2 separate regions of the Homo sapiens genome follow, and region 1 is linked to region 2. The links are contacts of gene promoters, found by promoter capture Hi-C in blood cells and fetal thymus (Javierre and others, 2016). All regions are on one chromosome and are shown on one strand. The core of a region is centred on a gene start or on the middle of the fragment in contact, and the rest is flanking DNA. Distances in the headings are between cores, read along the strand shown. Region 1 overlaps ADGB (androglobin). Region 2 holds the start of RAB32 (RAB32, member RAS oncogene family).

Region 1 (3,959 bases), core at 181-2,680, 130 kb before region 2:
ACCTAAATGAATACACTTATTTTGAAAATAACAAAATGAAATCTTAAATGTCAAGTCATTATTAGGATATGCATTGGATAATATTAGATGACATGTAAATATATATAAATCTCTACATGTCTTCTGCCATTATAAAACTAAATCTCCTTGGCGTTTAAAACTGTGAGCGTCATTTTATTGTAATGACCGTTGTCATAAATATGCTACTTTGAAAAAATTAATAAAACAGGGGTTCTTTATATTAGATTTTCAGTGACTTATCAGAATTAACTACAACACCTCTAATATCAAATCATCAATAAACAATATAGACAGAGCGTGGTGACACATGCCTATAGTCCCAGCACTTTGGGAGGCCAAGGTGGGTGGATCACTTGAGGTCAGGAGTTTGAGACCAGTCTGGCCAACATGATGAAGCTCTGTCTCTACTAAAAATACAAGAATTAGCCAAGTGTAATGGCATGCGCCTGCAGTCCCAGCTACTTGGGAGGTTGAGGCACAAGAATCGCTTGAACCTGGGAGGTGGAGATTGCAGTGAGCTGAGATTGCACCACTGCACTCCAGCCTGGGCGACACAGCAAGACTCTGTGTCAAATAAACAAATAAACAAACAAACAATATAAATGTCATGTTATATTTTCCATATGAGTTTGAATTGTCACTCAATTACCTCTTGAACACTTACTGTCTATCCATTATCTCCTTTACAAGTGAAACCAAAGCAGCTGATTGAAGGAAATGAATTATAACACCATCAGAAATGCACTTAGATTTAACTCTGTGGGAGAAGGAAGTTCACATGGCCACCCTCATATTTATGCCAGATAAAGGACTCCAATAGAGTTCATTCTAACACTGTATCTTTAGCACATGTAAGAATTAACAAAGGCTTTTGCAATAAATATGCTAAAATGTAGCTCTACCAACAAGTGCTAAGCACTTTACCTGGATTCAACACTTGATTCTCACAAGGACCCTCACCAAAACAATAATGCTGATTTATAGAGATCCTGAGTTTAAAGAGGCTCTATCACTTGCCTGATACTTATACACTCAGTGTTGGAGCAGATATTGAACTCAACCAGCTTGACTCCACAGTCCAAACTGAACCACATTCTATGTGTTGGAATGACCTTAACTGTAAGTTCAGCAGGAGAAGGAAGGCATCATTACTTTTATTTTCACAAAGAAAGAACTCTCAGAAAGTTTTAGCCATTTTCACAAAGATGAAGAACCATCAGTAAATCTGCTAATGTAATGTTTCTCACTATCAAAAAATATTGCTTAAGGCATCAATATAAGAAAATGATTTTTAATGTAGAATTAAAAATACAATAGTGACTTTTTTCTATCCACATCACTAGACATGTTTCAGTAAAAATAAAAAGCCATAATTATTAAAATGTCCTCATATAAATCATCATAATAAGAAAAAAGATAAAAATTTATTAATAAGGCACACTACTAGATGTAAAAACACATATTTTTGACTAGCTAATAAAGGATGAGGTGAAAATGATAACCTGCACTCTGGAAGCACCAAGATAGATGAGCCAAAGCTGAGACTCAAAAGAGACACTCTAGTCTTCCTCCTGATAACCTCCTGAATAGGTTGCGGTATCATTTTTTTACAGCTTGTTTTCTTTCAACCTGATACAATTTGTTTAAAGGCTACTTATACCTAGACTGTTTTAGCTGGTACACAGGACAAAAATGCGGTAGCCAAGGGGTCTTTAGAAATAATTTGTAAGTCCAAATTGGAAAGATTAATTAAAATGAAAGAGCTCCAATGTGATTTTAAGTGATAGAGAAACCCTAGCATTTTCACAAAAATAGTTGACCTTTATACAATGAGGCTATTATAAATAGTTCTTGTACATCCACCCAGTCACAATGCGATACACAAAAAAGTGTGGTTGTCAGTATTGTGATATAAACAATGACTTCCAGAGTCTCCGGCCTCACAGTTACTTTCTAAAACACAGTAAAAGAGCTGGAGGCCCACTGTGAGCAAGGAGCCAGATGTAGGCTTTTTGTTTTATTTGGTGGCTGGCATCTAACCACACAAACAAGTAACTTTGAATTTACTTAATTTGGATGATAAATTCAACCTGAGTATTTTTTAGAGAAATACCTGAAAGCGACCAGCAGAAGCCTCTCCCACATGTGGATACTTCTTCTGTGACAATTGCACTGTAATTTGGACAACAGGCTTCTGTCATTGGTAGGACTTGGCCCAACACGCCCACCCATCTGAGAACCCAACATTTATGGCAACCTTGACTAAGTTTATTTAGTTATTTCAAAAGAAAAAATGTATTTCTATGTTCCAAGGTTTTCCAGCATTTTAAGAAACAACTAAAATAGTTATTATTCTAAGAAATTAGGAGCTTACAATCTGATAGGGACTGCACAGAGTACTGCACTTCTGATGAGGGTCTTGAACCATGAAGTGAGAATTTGAATTTTTCTTTTTCTCCATCTTTGCTTCTCTTCTTTCCAATGTCTCTTGCATCTGCTTTCTCTAACATATGAAAAAATCACAATAAATATTTTAACTAGACAATCTCAAACTATATTTCTTATTCAGTCATTGTCTTAAAGAAAAAAGGCCAAAATAATAGTATTATTTAATGTAAAATTATGCCATAATTTCTCCAAAACATGATCCCCTCTAATTAGAAACACCATGATAAAGCCAGGGAGAACTTTGAAAATTGAGATATATTATGAAATAAATACAGCATTGCTTTTTATCTACTGTATATAATTTTGTTTCATGGAGATAATTATTTGAATATATTTTATTTATATAAGATTATAGTATCAAGGTAATTTTCTCATTTTAAAAATAAAAACAAAACACAGCAAAGCCTGTGCTGAAAGTTAAGTCCTAAATGTAGAGCCCTCTCAGATTTTCCTTATTTGGGTCCTCCACTTACAGGAAACACAGTTTTCTGACTCCAAAATATTTTCTTGTGGAGCCCAGATTCCAACCAAAGTCCCAAACCAGCATCTTATTGCCTACATGGCTTAGGTAATAAAACTCTTGTATCCAGAACGATTCCCACCATTTGAATGCTCATTCATATACTCAATCCACAAAACATATTCTTCTTCAACCTAAAATACTTTTCTCAAAGATTTTTTTAATTCCCTAACAAATCTGTCTCAATTCTGAGACAGAAATTATAGATTTCTGTCATTTCATTCTCTGCATCATCTGCTAAGTTTGTAATCATCATTGGTCAGGTTGCTCATCTTTAAAATTTTCGTAAATAAAAACTGTGACATTATCTACTTATAATGTTTCTGAACATCCAAAATAGACATGTTTCATACCTTAGCTTTTTTTTTTCTTTTTGACAGGCTTTCACTCTGCCACCCAGGCTGGAGTGCAGTGGCGAGGTCTCAGCTCACTGCAGCATTGACCTCCCAGGCTCAGGCAATTCTCCCACTTCAGCCTCCTGAATAGCTGGGACTACAGGTGTGCACCACCACAACTTGCTAATTTTTCTTTTTCTTTTCTTTTTATTTTTCTTTTTTATAGAGACAGGATTTCACCAGGTTGTCCAGGCTGGTCTTGAACTCCTGAGCTCAAGTGGTCTGCCTGCATCAGCCTCTTAAAGTGCTGGGAATACAGGTGTGAGCAACTATGCCCGGCCCATATCTTAGCTTTTTCAGCAGATTTAACACTTAAATTAGATATAAAAGTAAAGATAACTATAACTTCAATCATAGGATAAAACATTTAACCAAGAAGTTTCTGTTTTTAAAAAGTTTATTATCAAAATTTTATTTGTGAATTTTCTATATATATTACCTTAATTCAATAAAACTAATTTTAGGAAGCAATATTTGAGTGCATGTATAATTTTCAAATAGGACTTTAAGAGCTTTCAAACTTCTATTCAGAATTTGTGACTTAAAAATAATACATAATAAAAATTATAAATAGA
Region 2 (4,023 bases), core at 265-2,764:
CTGTACTGCAGACTGTGCTTCTTAACACCTGTAATGATTGAACAGAGTAATTTTCGTACTTTTTTTTTTTTTTTCTGAGATAGGGTCTCACTCTGTTGACCAGGCTGGAGTACAGCAGTGAGAACACAGCTCACTGAAGCCTTGACCTCTCCTAGGGTCAAGTGATCCTCCTGCCTCAGGCTCCTGAGTAGCTGGGACTACAGGCACGCACGACCACACTTGTCTAATTTTTTGTATGTATGTATGTATATATGTATGTATGTATTTTGTAGAGACAGGGTCTCACTAACAGCCCAGGCTGGTCTCGAACTCCTGTGCTCATGCGATCCTCCAGTCTAGGCCTTCCAAAGTGCTGGGATTACAGGCGTGAGCCACTGGCACTTGGCTTGGTACCATTTCTATGAACTTTCCAATAGTTAACATCATCTTTAAAACGCCCACTCCCAACCACCACACCAGGCAAAGTTCAAGTGTTCATAAATCAGAGCAGAGGGAAATGTACCCCCTCAAACAGAACAAATGAAAGCAAATGGCAGAGAAACACTGTATTGAGGAGTGGGGGGGGGGCGGGGGGGGGCGAGGGCACCAGGGATGGGACTAGGTGTTGGTTTAGCAAGAGAGGAAGGGGTGAGTGTAAGGTTTCAGAAAAGCTTTCCCAAATCTTCACGGAGTGTCTGTCCTCGGCTTCCGATGAGAGCAAAGTATTTGAGGAATGGAGTTTCCCTCACAAAGGCCAGTCTCAGAGCCAAGGCGGGTGGTGGAAAATGATCTGGAAAGGAACCTGGCTTTTGGTCTTGGTGGTGTCACTAACTAGGAGTGCAGCTTCGGGTTAAGTCACCCAATCCCTCTGAACTTGAGTTGAGGCTGAGAGGCGCCGGCCCGCTCCAAAGCAGCCTTCTCAACTAGTCCTGGTGTATGTATGATATACTTGCATTATTCAGAGTTCAAACTTCTGGAAAAGGCCCCCTGGCCTCCTCGCCTCCCTTCAGGAGAGCGAGCTCTGGCGTGCAGGACCTGCTCCAACTCCTACTGCCCATCCCATCCTCTGGGCCCCACCGAGTCCAGCCGACCGCGTCCATCGCATCTCGCCCTTGGATTGGGCCTCTCTCTTCTCCTAAAGGTACCCAGGCAGACGAGTTCAGGCAGAAAAGAAAAAGAAAAGAAGCAGAGAGGAGCCAGGCGGCCCGGCGGGGCTCTGGAGTGGGAAACTCGCGGCCGCGCTTACCCGCGATGTCCCACAGCTGCAGGCGCACCAGAGTCCTGCTGTCCCAGTTGAGGACCTTGAGGGCGAAGTCCACCCCGATGGTGGCCCGGTAGTGCTGGGAGAAGAGCTGGTGGACGTAGCGCTTGATGATGCTGGTCTTGCCCACGCCAAGCTCGCCGATCACCAGCACCTTGAAGAGGTGCTCGCGGGTCTCGGGCGCTGGGGCGGCGGCCGCCCCCAGGCCGGGGTCCCCGGCTCCTCCGCCCGCCATGAGCGCTGCGGCTGTCGGGCGCGCCTCGACTCCGAGTCTGGCCCCCTGCCCGGCCTCGCGCTCTGCCGCCGCGCCCCCGGCGGCCGCGGAAACTCCCCCGAGGCCGGCCAGCCCTCCGCCGCGCCCGCTGACGCCGCCTGACCGGTCACAGGACCCAGAACCCGCCAGTGCTCGCGGCCCGGGCGGGGCCAGACGAGGGCAGGGCCGGACGAGGGCAGGGCCTGGCGCCGGCTTGGGGAGGACCCTGCGCGAGGCGGCTCCCGCCCTGCGCCTCTGAAGCCCGGCCGGGCCCAACTGGACTTCCTCTCCCGGGCGGCGCCTCCGAAGCCCGGCCGGGCCCAGCTGGACTTCCTCTCCCGGGCGGCGCCTCCTGGCGGTCGCGGCGCGGAGGGAGGCCCAGACGCCCGCTGGTGGGCCTCCGGGGAGCCGGCCTGGAGCCTTTATGGGCCCCGGAGGTTCACTGGGGGCCTGAGGAGGCGCCGAGGTCGCTGAGCCCCCCCCGGGGCCGGGGTCGGCGTGGGGTCCGGGCCCAGCCTGGAAGCCTCTGGCCTGGAAATCCACCTCCTGCCCTACTCTCCCCGCAGGGAGAGCCACACTTGCGGGCCTTGGCTTGGGTCGCGAGCAGTCCCCTTTAGATGGGAAAGGAAGTGGCACCGTGACTTTGAACTTAACGAAGGACGGATAACACTGGGCTGGTAGTTCTGTTTTTAACTTTTTGAGTGAACCTCCGTAGGGTTTTCCATAATGGCTGTTCCAGTCCGCATTCCCACCACCAGTGTACAAGGTTCCCTTTGCTCCGCACATCACCGACACTTATTATCGCTTATCTTTTTTATAACAGTCATCCTAGCAGGTGTGAGGAGATACCTAGTGGCTTTTCCCTGTTCATTAGTGATTTTGAGCGCCTTTTCTTATACCTGTTGGCAATTTGTACTTCCTCTGGAAAAAAAAAAAAAGTCCATTCACATCCTTTGCCCGTTAGTTAACTGGGTGTTTTATTTATTTATTTTGGCTGAGTTCTGTGAACGTAATGTATTTTGGATATTAACCCCTTATCAGATATATGGCTCACAAATATTTTCTCCCAATCTATAGGCTGTTTTTTCATTTTGTTGATTATTTCCTATGCGGTGCAGAAGCATTTTAGTTGGATGAAGTCCCATTTATCTAGGTTTGCTTTGGTTGCCTGGGCTTTTGGTGTGATATTGCAAAAATCGTTGCTAAAGCCAGTGACCCAGCTATCCCTCTTCTGGGTGTATACTCAAAGGAAATGAAATCAGGATCTCAGAAATCGCTCTCAAGTTCATGCAGCATTATTCACAGTTGCGAAGATTTGGAAACAACCAAAGTGTCTGTTAACGATGAATGGATAAAGAAATTGTAATACATACATAGGCATGCACGCGCGCATATACACAGACGCACACACACACACAATGGAATATCATTCAGCCTTTAGAAGGCGATCCTGACATTTGCAACAACATGGATAAACCTGGAGGACATTATGCTAAGCGAAATAAGCCAGACACAAAAAGAAAGATACTGTGCAATATCACTTATATGTGGAATCTTAAACACACACACACACACACACACACACACGGAATACGTGGAAACAGTGGTGGTTACCAGGGGCAGGGAAGAAACGGAATGATGCAGGTCAAAGTGTACAAAGTTGCAGTTATATAGGATGAATGAGTCCTAATGATCTAATGTAGCATGAGCGTTATAGTTAATAATATTGTATTTTAAACTGGAAATTTGCTAAGAGAGTAGACTGTAAGTGCTGTTACCATTAAAAAAAAATTGCAGCCAGGTGTGGTGGCACCCACCTGTAGTCCCAGCTACCCAGAAGACTGAGGTGGGACGACTACCTGAGCCTGGGAGGTCCAGGCTTCAGTGAGCTTAATCGCACCACTGTATTCCACCTGGGCGACAGAGTGAGACCATCTCAAAAAAAAAAAAAAAAAAAAAGAAAAGAAAAAATGAAAAGAAAAAATTGTGTAACTATGTGAGATGATGGACATGTTAATTTGTTAATTTGCTTAACTCTAGTAACTATTTCACTATGTATATCAAAGCATCATGCCGTATACCTTAGATATAGATATATATATATATACACACACACACAACAAAATAGTCTATTAAAAACCTTATCATGCTTTAGCATTTAAATTATGGAAGGAGTTTGAGAAAGAAGACACAGGGACTCTGAAGCCATCTTACTTTACTTCCCTAACAATCCTTTTTCAACCTTCATCTGGTAGTGTTTGGATTAGATGTAAATGCTCTAAGATAAATCATAGGAAATTGATTGGAAAGTAGTAGACTTGTGGGTTTTTATTTTAAAGAAGAAACATGGGGGACAGCCCCTTGCTTTCTCTATCTATAAAGTTGAGGGATGCACCCCATCACCTTAATATTTAGAAACACCTGGAGCTGACATCATCTGGCAGCTTCCTTAAATAAACTAAAGCAGCTGCTTACCCTACTATCCTCACTCTAATTGACAATTATTGAAAAGTGTTTTTCAGAGATGGAG

Evidence for each region. The method cuts DNA at HindIII sites, captures the fragments that hold promoters and counts their contacts. A CHiCAGO score of 5 or more calls a contact.
Region 1: a fragment that was not itself captured here is called in contact with the fragment with the promoter of RAB32 in region 2 in 2 of 17 cell types (monocytes and M2 macrophages); the score reaches 11.6 in monocytes.

Annotation. Positions count from the first base shown.
Region 1 is chr6:146,674,878-146,678,836 of GRCh38, reverse strand. It overlaps ADGB (androglobin), which reads right to left. Exons shown (of 36, transcript NM_024694.4): 9 at 2,396-2,524. Among named protein-coding and RNA genes, the nearest start is that of ADGB, 78 kb to the right of the region's middle. The HindIII fragment of the contact is 6,306 bases long and covers 1-3,959 here.
Region 2 is chr6:146,541,324-146,545,346 of GRCh38, reverse strand. RAB32 (RAB32, member RAS oncogene family) reads right to left here and starts at 1,514. Exons shown (of 3, transcript NM_006834.5): 1 at 1,226-1,514. The coding sequence starts at 1,475. RefSeq lists a silencer at 1,561-1,940. The HindIII fragment of the contact is 5,944 bases long and covers 653-4,023 here.